2 separate regions of the Homo sapiens genome follow, and region 1 is linked to region 2. The links are contacts of gene promoters, found by promoter capture Hi-C in blood cells and fetal thymus (Javierre and others, 2016). All regions are on one chromosome and are shown on one strand. The core of a region is centred on a gene start or on the middle of the fragment in contact, and the rest is flanking DNA. Distances in the headings are between cores, read along the strand shown. Region 1 overlaps ARMC12 (armadillo repeat containing 12). Region 2 holds the start of DEF6 (DEF6 guanine nucleotide exchange factor).

Region 1 (6,053 bases), core at 2,946-5,445, 450 kb after region 2:
CTATTGCAGAAATCCCGGTGAGATGCCAGTGGCTTGAAAGAGGGTGGTAAGAAGTGGGGGTGAGGAGAAGTGGCTTGAATTTTGATAGATTTTTGAAGGTAGTGCCTACAGGATTTTCTGAAGGGTTGGAAAAGGAGTGTGAGAGAAAGAAAGGAGTTGATGCCAGCAGTTTTTGGCCCGAGCCACTGGAAGGAAAGTGTAACCCATAGCTGAGACAGGGAAAGCTATAGAAGGAGCAGGTCTGGGGATGGGGGAGCGTGTTAACTCTGAGAGCTCTATTAGACATTTGGGGAGAAAAGTGGAATTGGTAGCTGCATATATGAGTCTGGATTCAGGGGAGGGACAACATAGCTGGAGCTAGAGACATAAAGGGGAGAGTCACCAGCATGTGGATCGTATTTAACACTGTGAGTCTGGATGATACCGGTATGGGAGTGAGGTAGGTAGAAAAGAGGAGGTTGGGCAGAATAGCTAGGAAAGAAGTCTGTAAAAAAAAAAAAAAAAAAGCCAAATAAAGAATTTCAAGGCAGTGGGAGTGGGCAACTGGGTCAAATTATGTTGAGAGTTAGGGAGAATTGTCTATTGGGTTTGGCCCAGGGGACATCCATGGGGACAGTGAAGAGTAAAGTCAGATACTGGGATAGTGGTGATCACCTGTAAAAGTAAGCCCTTTTGTTCTCCCCCACTCCAGGAACACTCCATCAAAGTACTCGAACTGATCTCCACCATCTGGGACACGGAACTGCACATTGCGGGCCTCAGACTCCTCAACAACCTTCCACTGCCCGACTATGTGCATCCACAGCTGCGACGGGTGATGCCTGCCTTGATGGAGATCCTGCAGTCAGACTACATCCTGGCACAGGTGCCTGAGGACCATGGCCAAGGCCCTGCCTTGCTGACCAGCCCTAGCACAGTACTTAGAGGGAGGAGCAGAGGTTTATATCTTCCTTGCTGAGGCCCAGACTCACCTGCCTTCTCATGCTTTACTCTTTCCTTTATTCAGGTGCAAGCCGTACGACTGCTGAGCTACCTGGCACAGAAGAATGACCTTCTCTATGACATTCTCAACTGCCAGGTGAGAAAGAAATTGAAGAGGGGCTGATGAATGCCAACTCAGGTATAGGGGGAGGGAAGAATCATGGCATCTCCAGACAGATTTACCCCTGATGAATTGTTTTAGTATCTTCCTGCCTCTGCACTAAATGCACTGAAAATCATGCCTCTTCTGTTCCCCCCAGTAGAAGGAGACTCCATTTTATTGGGAGGGGGATCCCCCTTTGAGGCATTTCCTGAACTCTGAGAGTTAGGAACACAGGAGACAAAACAAAAGTTAATGTAGGTATTTTAATATTGGGGGGAAATTACTATGGCAAAGAGCATTATTAGGGATAGAAAAGGTTACTCTGTGATAATCAGTGGTTCAGTTCACCAGAACAGTAGGGCAACTCTAAACTTGTATGCACCTAATAACATAGTCTCAAAATATATACGACAAAAATTGAAAGGAGAAATTAACAAATATACCACTACAGTGGGAGATTTGGAATATTTTAACCATTCTTGCAGCAACTGATAGATTAAAAAGCCAAAATTAGTGAGGATATACTCTTAGTGAATAACACAAATAAGCTTGAGCCATTAGACATACTCAGAACAGTCTACAAGGATTAAATGCACAGTCCTCTCAAGCACACACACAATACTTAAGAAAATTAGTCACACACTAAGCCTTAAAATTTGTCTCAACAAAATTTCCAGAATGAATATTATCATATCACTCATGTTTTATGATCACAAGGCAATTAAATTAGAGGATAATAATAAAAGAAAAACTAAAAAATTACTATATACTCGAGTCTGAAATTTAGGTATATTTGGGAGTTTAGGCAATAGGAATATACAAGAACAAGAATTTTGTAACTTGCCTAGGAGTTTATTCCCATTCTTTCTCTATTCCCATCACAGGTTCACTCCAACTTCCTAAACCTGTTCCAGCCCACACAGTCAGGGAGTCTCCTGTATGAGGTACTGGTGTTTGCTGAGCGGCTGAGTGAGGGCCGGAACGCACCCCACTACCACGTGGTGAAATGGCATTACAACGAACAGTCCCTGCATGAATCCCTCTTTGGGGAAGAGTCCCGACTGGCAGACCGACTACTTGCCCTGGTCATCCACCCTGAGGAAGATGTTCAGATCCAGGCCTGCAAGGTCATTGTCAGCCTGCAGTATCCCCAGGACTTGAGAGCCCGGCCCTCCTCCTGCCAGCCCAGTCGTTCCTACTTTAAAAACACGGAATAAAATTAAGGAGAGCCAATAAATGAGTATAGGAGAGAAACTTGAAGTTTCTTGAAGCTCGAATGTCTGTTGGTGGCCTTCCAGGGCTGGGTGGAGATTTCATTCAGCATAACCTCTGCTCCAGAGTGTGGTACAGCATGGGCTTATCTCTCAAAACACATCCCCACTTCTATGTTTGGGGGACTAGCTCCCCTCTTCTCTTGCTGCTTTTCTTTCTTTTTTTTTTTTTGAGATGGAGTCTTGCTCTGTTGCCTAGGCTGGAGTGCAATGGCACAATCTTGGCTCACTGCAACCTGCGCCTCCCTGGTTCACGCCATTCTCTTGCCTCAGCCTCCCGAGTAGCTGGGACTACAGGCGCCCGCCACCACGCCCAGCTAATTTTTGTATTTTTAGTAGAGGTGGGGTTCGGCATGTTGGCCAGGCTGGCTCTTGCTGCTTTTCAAATCAATGTGGAGCCATTGCTTTCAGGGGGTTGGAAGAAGGCAGGCTTGGGGATTGAAGCCAAAGATAATCAACAGGACGCAGTATAGCATTAGATTAGTTAGGATGGGCCAGGCTATCCCACAGTAACAACACTCACACCTCAGTGGCTTAAACATGGCAAAGGGGGCCAGGCGCGGTGGCTCACGCCTGTAATCCTAGCACTTTGGGAGGCCGAGGCGGGCAGATCACGAGGTCAGGAGATCGAGACCATCCTGGCTAAAACGGTGAAATCCCGTCTCTACTAAAAATACAAAAAATTAGCCGGGCGTGGTAGCAGGCGCCTGTAGTCCCAGCTACTCAGGAGGCTGAGGCAGGAGAATGGCGTGAACCCAGGAGGCGGAGCTTGCAGTGAACCGAGATTGCGCCACTGCACTCCAGCCTGGGCGACAAAGCGAGACTCCGTCTCAAGAAAAAAAAAACATGGCAAATGTTAATTCTTGTTTACACTGCATGCCCATTGCAGATCAGCGGTGGGGGTGGAAGGGCAGGCCTCTACTCCACAACATCCTCACACAGAGACCCAGGTTGAGGGAGGCTTCCTCATTGTGTTTCTACAACTATTACAGAAGGACAGGGAATGTGGTAGTGATAAATGTCATCACTTCTGCTCACATCTCATTAGCCAAAGGGGATGAGGAAGATCATTCTTTCCACGTGTCCAAGGAAGAACTGTTGATCCTTGGTGACAGCATGAATGACAGAGATCTGCAGGCATACTGGGTCAGAAAGGGAGCTCTGGAATCAGAGTGCTCGCTTCCAGTCCCAGCTCTGTCACTTACTGTGTGACCTCAGGGGAGCAGTTAACCCTATTTGAGCTTCAGGCCCCTCATCTATAAAATGCATATAATAATAGTACTGATTTCATGACGCTGTTGGGAAAATGAAAGGGGGATTATATGAGTTAACGAACGTAAGCCACAGTGTTCTGCATGCATTCCTCAAAGATGGGCTCTGAGGAGCTATGAAATCATCACTGAGAAAGCCGGGCAGAGTGGCTCACGCCTGTAATCCCAGCACTTTGGGAGGCTGAGGCGGGAGGATCACCCGAGGTCGGGAGTTCGAGACCAGCCTGACCAACACGGAGAAACCCCGTCTCTACTAAAAATACAAAACTAGCCAGATGTGGTGGCGGGCACCTGTAATCCCAGCTACTTGGGAAGCTGAGGCAGGAGAATTGCTTGAACCCGGGAGGCAGAGGTTGCGGTGAGCTGAGATCACGCTATTGCACTCCAGCCTCAGAGACAGAGGTGCGAGACTCCATCTCAAAAAAAAAAAGAAATCATCACTGAGAAAACAAAAGATCATCACTGGGGAGGTCCTTGGAGAGTGTTGCCTCCAGCATTTCTCCAGTCTCTTCAGGTTATGGGCACTGGGGAGTCCTAGAGTCCTCTATGAAGCGTGCTGAAAAGTCATTGAAACTTAGCTTTGGAAACCAGAACAATGGTGTGAGTAATATAACACCATAACCATGAAGTTTCCAGAAACAAGAAGACTGTCAAACCAAATATGGTCATCCATTTTCCAATTCCCCATTCATTTGCGTTTCCCAGTTGTTCCTTCATTGTTTTTTTTGTTTTTTTGAGACGGAGTCTCGCTCTGTCGCCAGGCTGGAGTACAGTGGTACAATCTCAGCTCACTGCATCCTCTGCCTCCCGGGTTCAAGCAATTCTCCTGCCTCAGCCTCCCGAGTAGCTGGGACTACAGGAGCGCGCCACAACACCCAGCTAATTTTTTGTATTTTTTAGTAGAGAAGGGGTTTCACCATGTTGGCCAGGATGGTCTCGATCTCCTGACCTCGTGATCCCCCCACCTTGGCCTCCCAAAGTGCTAGGGTTACAGGTGTGAGCCACCACGCCCAGCCCTCATTCACTGTTTTATCTGTGAATCCTTGCTGGGAAACAGTAAGGATTGCTAACGGTTTAAGAAAATGCTACGGGAGAGAAACCTAATGTTGGAGCTATTCCCAGCCTGAGACTGCTCGATCTAGGACAAAGAACCTGGTCCAGCCACGGGCTCCCGGTGTTCTTCAGAAGCAGGATTTGAAAACTAGTCTCGTCCAGGACCAACCCTGGCATTTTCCTGAAAGGAAAACAAACCCAAAATGGAAAAGTGACTTGCTCAAGGTCACATGACTGGTCTAGGGCAGAAATAGGATTAGAACCTCCTACTACTGAGCTTTTCTTTTGCCCTCACATTCTTCGGTCCAAGCCCCGTAAGAGTGGGTCATGGATTCTAAGCCCAAACCTATGGAAACTGAGGAGGATCTTGATGCTTCTGGATTTTAGAGGCCAGTTTAGGACTGAAGTACTTAAAGGAAATCTGTCCCCACTTAATCCCTGGCCCAAGGTCATATCACTCAGGTGGAAGAGGGAGGGTGTTTCTTGATGAGGATGGGCTGATGAGAAAGAGCCAGAGCCTATAGAGAGGCCAACCCCGTCACTGTCTCCCAGAATGAGTGGGCAGTCACTACCAGATCTGAATCAGCATCCCTTGTTTCCCTCCTGAGTTCAGGCCTGAGGCTGCTCCTTCTTGCTGCTGAATACACTGCAGCCACCCCAGTGGAACTTGTCAAATGCCGACGTTTCCTTTCGACCAGCTCCATGTGTGCCCATGTCACCAACAAGGTGTTGGGCATCACTTTCAAATTCTCCTCCCCACCACATCCACCTAGTTCCCCCATTTCCACTGCTACTGCCCTGTCCTCCACATCAGGACTTGCCTACTTCTTTCTTTCTTTCTTTTTTTTTTTTTTTGAGACAGGGTCTCACTCTGTCTCCCAGGCTAAAGTGCAGTGGAGCAAACACAGCTCACTGCAGCCTCGACCTCCCAGGCTCACGTGGTCCTTCCACGTCAGCCTCCTTGGGTAGCTGGGACTACAGGAGTGTGCCACCGCGCCCAGCTAATCTTTTGTATTTTTTTTGTAAAGACGAGGTTTTGCATGTTTCCCAGGCTGGTCTCAAACTCCTGAGCTCAAGCAATCCACCTTCCTCAGCCTCCCAAAGTGTTGGGATTACAGGTGTGAGCCACCACACTGGGCCTGACTTTTCCTCCTCCTGGTTTCCATCCTCTCCAGCCCTACGCACTCCAGGCTAATTTTATAATCACACATGGCACCATTCTCAAAAACCTTCAGGGGCTCCCCATTGCCATGGTGAAATCTTTCTCGGCATCAAAGCAAAGTCACGTGATCTGACAGGTATAAATGTATTCTCAGCAAAAGGTTGAGTTTTGTCCTCAAAGATGTGGTCACTGGACCCCTTTTTTACATGACG
Region 2 (6,531 bases), core at 2,808-5,307:
CCCCGGAAGACCTGCAGGCCCTGGGGAGTGCCATCAGTATGGTCACCCAGCACGGCAGCACCACCCTCACCATCCCCAGTCCTGATGCCGACCTGGCCACATCTGGCACACATACAGTCACCATGGTCAGCGCCGATGGCACCCAGACGCAGCCCGTATGACCAGGCGGTTTGCTTGGGGTTTCTTATTTTGTCATTCCTTTCCATGGGGCGGGCATTAAAGTGCAGCCTAAACTAGTCAAGTCTTCTTACCAGGACAAAGATTCCCCACAAAAGAAGGGGTCTTCCCCACAGTTCCTGGGCCATGAGCAGCTCTTACCTTTAAAAGCAGTTGAATGGAGGTCAAGAGACACTTTCTAAATCTCAATTCAACCCTGATTTGTTGTGCAACCTTAGGCAAATCACTTTTCCATGGACTTCTGTCCATTTTCAAGTGAGGGGATTAAAATATCTCTGGAATTTTTTACAGCTCTGTCCTTCTGTGATTCAAAATCCCTAAATTAAATTGGGCTCTAAGTTGGGAGGAAACCCAGCCTTACTTAGCTCTGAGCCTCAGGCTAATTAATCTGACCCATACGGTTTTATCCATTCTCTTCTGGGTTGTTCCCAGCACCTTAATTGGAGGGATGTTTATTTGGATTGTGGGGAGGGAGAGTATACTGCAGGTGGAATGGAAGACCTCCTTTTGTCTTTCAGGTCACAATCATTACCTCTGGGGCTGTGGTGGCTGAGGACTCAAGTGTAGCATCTCTTCGTCATCAACAGGTGGCACTGTTGGCCACAGCCAACGGAACGCACATTGCAGTGCAGGTGAGTAGAGATCTGGGAGGAAAGGGGATCCCACGGCCAGAGAAGTCAACAAGGAATAAAGGGGAATTAGATGAGGATCTTGAAGAGAAGGGCATCTGACTCAAAAAGAGCCCATTTCAGAGGACAGATCCCTTTCCTCCTGCATCCATGCATCTGTCTCAGGCTCGCTCTTGGCTGAGGCAGAATGTTGAAGCCTCTTCTGGCCTTCAGGATAACTCCGATGGCAGTCCACCTGTGGTCCAAGCCCTTCATCATTTTGTGTCTCTGTTTCTTCATCTGGAAATGAAGGAGGCTGACGTAGATGATCACCACGGTTCTCTTCAGCCAGTCCTTCCTCCGTGAGCAAGTGGGTCTCTCTGACCCTGGCTATTCCAGGGCCCCCTGGCCATGCCTAGCCTAATAGGACTCTTCATCCGTGAACTTCATGTTTATTGGAGCCCTACTAAGTGCTCAGCGTGTGGCACTGGGTAGATGGGGGAGAGTCAAAAAAAAAAGTAGGCCACATATTACTAACACTGGAATCTAGCAGGGAGGGTCTCACTGTCTCCTTCCTTCTGCACCCCCTTCCCCACAGCTGGAGGAACAGCAGACCTTAGAGGAGGCCATCAATGTGGCCACTGCGGCCATGCAGCAAGGGGCTGTGACCCTGGAGACAACAGTGTCGGAGAGTGGCTGCTGAGTCCAAGAGGGCTGGGTCCCACACCATGCTGGAGGAAGTGCCATCTGCATGGCCACTCTTGCCCCCAAGGGCCCAGGCTGTGGCTGACACATAGAAGGTGGCCACATAGGTCTCTGGGGTGAGAAGACAGCAAGAAAACTGCCTAACTGAAGGGAATGGGGGCCCTGCTCAAGAAGGGGGCCAGGCAGCTGGAATCAGGGGAGTGCATCATCCTCGGGAGCTGACAACAGCCAGGCTACACCAGGGCACCCGCCTCTCAAAATCAGCTGGGCGCCCACTCTCCTCCTAAAGAACACCCTTCTGGCCCTCAGTCTGTTCCCCTTCTCAGGTAGAGATTGGGGCTGCTATGGGGACTGGCCCTGTAGGGTTGAGCCACAGACAGCTCTTCAGCCCAGTAGCAGTGGAGCAGGCCCTGTCCTGCCCTCCCAGCAATAACCACCTCCCTGGAGGCCAGCTGAGATGCCTGGCTACTTGGCACCAGGGACTTCCTGACACCACAGTCAATTAATTCCTCAGGGGCCTGTGGCTGAAGAAAAGGTGCCCAGCCCCCACCACTCCTCAGCTGCCCCCCAACCTCTCTATGGCAGAGAGGCAGGGAGTGGCCCTGTACATAGACTGCTGGGGATTGGGTTTGATTTGTTTTGTTTTTTTTAATTCCATTTTGATAATTTTTTTCCTGCTCTGGGTGGTGGTGGCACATGGATGAATGAGTATTTAATAAAAGTTCCAAATTTCCACCTGGGTCCCTCCATCCTTTCAGCTCTAGGCCCGGGTGGCAGGGTTGGTCAAATCAGGCTATCAGCCCTGTCTCCCTGGCACAAACCCCACTCAGCCTTGGTGCCAGAGTGGTGGGGCTGGCCTGCCAGGGACACAGGTGGGAAGGAAGCCCAGTATAAGATAAAGCCCTGAGGAGCTGCTGGTGGCTTCTTGCCCACAGCTGAGCAGGTGGGCTCCAGGGTAGCCAAACAGGACCAGGGTGACCGCTGCTTCCAGGCTCTGGCTGAATCTCAGGCCTCATGTGATTGAGCTGGGGGAACTCTTTTCCTGCCTTTTCTTGTGAAACGTAGTCAGAGCCCCTCCAACCCAGCCACCCCCAAATCACACAGTCAGCTTCTCCAAGAGGGCAAAGCCCCAGGTTAGAGTGAGGCTGGGGGACACCTTTGCCAAGGTTACTGAGATTCAAGGAGCAGAGTCTGATGCCTCTGGAGCTGAAGTCTTGGCTCTATTACCCAGCTCTGGGGGTGCCCACCTAGGTGCCTAGGACTGTGCTGTGGGATTTCAAAGCCACAATCAGACCCCACTGAAAAGTGAGTTGGTGAGACCAGATCAGCTCCAGGGGGAAGAAGGGATACAGGGGAAGGCACTTGATGGGAAGAAGCTCTGGGTTTGACTCTGCCTACACAGGAACATTGCAGGGATTGGTGGTGCCTCTTTTCCTCTCTCTGCTGTGATGGATATGCCCCAACCCCTTCCTGCCTCCTAGGATTGGAACCCCCTCCTCTGATCCAGGCATCCTCTCCCAGGATGCCTAGAAAGCTCCCATTTACTCTTGCCACCAGCTCCTTGGGAAGAGAGGGGCGGGGGCGTGCTTCCAGGCAGGAGGTATTCCCAGCACCTTACTTGGAGGGATTTTTATTTGGCTTAGGGGGTAGGGGGAGGTGTCTTAGAATTGGCCTGAGCAGATGTCTTCAACATCTGTGACCACCATTCCTGGTGTGGGCGTGTCCCAGTCCTTTTGGACACTGGATCTGAAGAAAGGAAGCACTGACATGGAGGGCCCTGAATCCCAAGCCTGCTGCTGCTGGGACCCTTAAAGTTGAGGTGCACCACAAGGCTCACCCCCATGTGTTTCAGGAAGTTTCCAGTGTCTTCAGGGCTACTGGGGCTAGAGTGGGCAGTGCTCTGAGTACCGTTTAGAGCCAGTGCTGAGGGGATAGGGAGCCAGCAAGTCAAGTGCCACATCCTGACCTGGAGAGGTGCCCTGGCCCATTTCCTTCTCCAGCTTTGTGATGTTGCCTTTGTTTCCTTCCACTTGGATGGAGTCCCACCACCATGGTAATGTTAAGTAGCACCAAAAGCTCTACCCAGAGCCTACTATGTGCTTTACGTCCATTCTCAGACATTCTTACAACACGGAGGCATTTTTCCTGCTTTACAAATGAGGAAACTGCTCAAGGAGGTTAAGTAACTTACCCAAGGCCTCCTATGTTGAACTAGGACTGGACCTTTACTCTGTCTGACCCCAATATCAGGATGAGCTTGCTTTTTCCCTCAGCAAGCTGCGTCTGGGAGCCCTGGAAGGCTCCAGAAGCCTCCGGGTCTGAGGAGGCTTCTAAAAGGGCCTCACATGCCCCGGGAGCCACGTGGATACAGAACGAGGGTTCCCGCTCTCGGAGAGTTGGTCCCCAGTTCCCATGCAGGGAGTGGAGCCTCTGAGCACTGCCAGAACAACAGGCAGGGTTCTCGACAGCACAGAGCCTCACGCAATGTGCAGGCAGGTGGTGCTCTCGCTCCACCACGGCACCTCTGCGGTCTCTGCAGCCGTTTGCATTTCCTGAAACCGGATCTTAGTGTCAGAGCCGCCCCCAGCCGGGCGGGCGCCTCAGCCATGGCCCTGCGCAAGGAACTGCTCAAGTCCATCTGGTACGCCTTTACCGCGCTGGACGTGGAGAAGAGTGGCAAAGTCTCCAAGTCCCAGCTCAAGGTGAGGGGCACCCGGGACCCGGGGGAGGACGGCAGATGCACCACACCAGCCCCTGCCGCCTGGGAGCCAGGTGTGGACACTGTGCCACTCCAGGGGCACCCAGCCATCCAGCGTCCCGGGCCTGGGGTCGGGGGGCTGGTCCTGGGTAACTGGGCCAACGTAGCCTGGTAGATGCCGCTGCCCACCCTCCAGAGACCTAGTGAAGTGTGTGCAGAAACCTTGCGCAGAACTGGGCCCCACAACTGGAGGCCAGGAGGTTCTGAGGGCCATTATGGGGTTCTGAGGGCCAGGAGCCAGGCCACATCCCAGACTCTGTGTGATGAGCACACACACCTCCACAGAGTCATGCTTGGGCACGCAGTGTGCTCTTTCTTGCTGCTTCCTCCTGACTTTCAAGAGAAACAGTTAGCCAGTGCTTGGCAGTCATTTCCTCTGGAGCTGAGAGAGGCATAAAGGGGCCGCCCCCAGTCCCAAACCTGTCTGGCCTGTCTAACCCTGCCCGCCAGGTGGGACAGAGCTGCGGAGTGGGTGAGGACTGAGGACCCTATTATACTGCTACGCAGCTCACCCCCCTATCCACCACACATATCAGGTTGGGAAACTTACCTTAGGCCTTGAGACCTCAGGTAGGGAAGGGGGAGAATCTAAGCCCAGGAAAATCCCAATCAATGATTGTCCTGAAGTCAATCATCTGGCCTAGACAATTTCTGGGAGGCCAAGGAGTTTTTCTCTCTCTTCCTCTAGTCCTCCAGTAGTGCTGCCTTCCCTACCCTAGTTAGTGGGGAGGAAGCAAGGCCCTCAGCCACTAGAATCAGCGAACACTGGGGGAAAGGAGCAAGGTAGGCCTCAGCTCTCTAGGACCTGCCATAGGGGTGCCTTCGTTCACTCTGCAAGTACTTGAGTGCCCCTCGTGAGGCTCTGTGCCTGGCATGTGGCTAGGCACTAAACTGGTGTCTCCCTGCCCCATCCTCCAAAGGAGACGTGTGGTCTCAAGGAAACCTCCATTCTTAATGACCGAGGTAGAGGGTGCTGGATACCTGAGAGATGAATGGGACAGAACAGTTATTGTGCCCCACCACCGTTCCAACCCCCTACTTTACTGAACTTGGATGTGAGGAACTTGAATATCCCAAACTGGTCCTATGTTAAATTCCTTACCTGGATTTGTGAGCATCTAATAGATGATTTCACTCCCCCAGGAAGGAGAGCCCACTACTATCTTTTGTCACCTAGGGAGAACCTCCTAACAGGCAGATTCTTCCTTACATCCTATTTAAATCTCTTGTATTGCAGATCATGTCATTTGGTTGGGTCCTCAGTATAAATGGAAAAAAGTCGATCATCCAAAATCCATTTCTGCAAACTCTGTGTCCCACCCCTACCTCCCACCCTGTCCCTTTAATATCTTGCCAGACAATACCAGCCCCCGTGGCTTTTTGCTTCCAGGGTAACATTTTCCACTTCTGTATTACCTGTGGCCACTGAGACCTCTCCAGGCTCTCTCTGCCCTTCACATGGAAAGTACAGCCTTTAAGTGGCTCCCCTTTTCCTGGTGCCATCAGCCAGTAAAGCCTCCTAGCTTGAGCCTCTGTCTTGCCCTCTAAAAGGGCCACTACCCACTCCCTCATCCCCACAGGTTGCGTATTTCTAGGGAAATACTCCATGGAGAGCTTGCATGCTTGAACTGTCCACTGTCTGTACCTCATCACAGCTCATATTGAACCTACTGCCAGCAACATCTCTGGTCACACAGGATCAATTATAGAGTTCCCTCCTACTTGACAGAAAACTTGTCAACTCTGGAAACCTGGGCTAACAGTGGGAGTCTCAGGGGCCAAGTGGGGGTGGGGCGGAAATGGCGGGGCTCCTTTCAAGCCCATAATAGTGAATATTGGAAGAGGAGGAAGTAGTGATAGTGTTGGGGGGCGGGGATTCCAGCAAAGCAAAGGAGTAATAGAGAAGTGGTCAAAAGGCAAAGGAGGAAGCAGACGAGAGAGTTATACAAGCAGGGCCCACCTCTCCCCAGAAAAGACTTGGGGATGAGGGAAAAGACCTTGGAGTCAATCTGGTTTTTTGTTGTTGTTTTAGAGATGAGATCTTGTTCTATCACTCATGCTGGAGTGCAGTGGTGCAGTCATAGCTCACGACAGCCTCAAACTCCTGGGTTCAAGCGATCTTCCTACTTCAGCCTCCTGAGTAGCTGGGACTACAGGCACATGCCACCACGCCTGGCTAATTTTTTTATTTTTTATTTTTTAGAGCCTGAGTCTCATTATGTTGCCCCGGCTGGTTTCAGACTTCTGGCCTCAAGTGATCCTCTGGCTTCTGCCTCCTGAGTA

The links. Contacts are between HindIII fragments. The CHiCAGO score rates a contact against its expected background, and 5 or more counts as called.
Region 1: a fragment that was not itself captured here is called in contact with the fragment with the promoter of DEF6 in region 2 in 1 of 17 cell types (non-activated CD4 T cells); the score reaches 6.1 in non-activated CD4 T cells.

What each region holds. Positions count from the first base shown.
Region 1 is chr6:35,746,570-35,752,622 of GRCh38, forward strand. It overlaps ARMC12 (armadillo repeat containing 12), which reads left to right. Exons shown (of 6, transcript NM_001286574.2): 4 at 692-865; 5 at 1,007-1,078; 6 at 1,969-2,510. The coding sequence ends at 2,301. Among named protein-coding and RNA genes, the nearest start is that of ARMC12, 13 kb to the left of the region's middle. RefSeq lists a silencer at 904-1,103. The HindIII fragment of the contact is 5,130 bases long and covers 1,631-6,053 here.
Region 2 is chr6:35,293,761-35,300,291 of GRCh38, forward strand. DEF6 (DEF6 guanine nucleotide exchange factor) reads left to right here and starts at 4,058. Exons shown (of 11, transcript NM_022047.4): 1 at 4,058-4,192. The coding sequence starts at 4,097. ZNF76 (zinc finger protein 76) reads left to right here. Exons shown (of 14, transcript NM_003427.5): 12 at 1-155; 13 at 696-809; 14 at 1,384-2,225. The coding sequence ends at 1,488. RefSeq lists a silencer at 2,395-2,559. The HindIII fragment of the contact is 28,623 bases long and covers 1-6,531 here.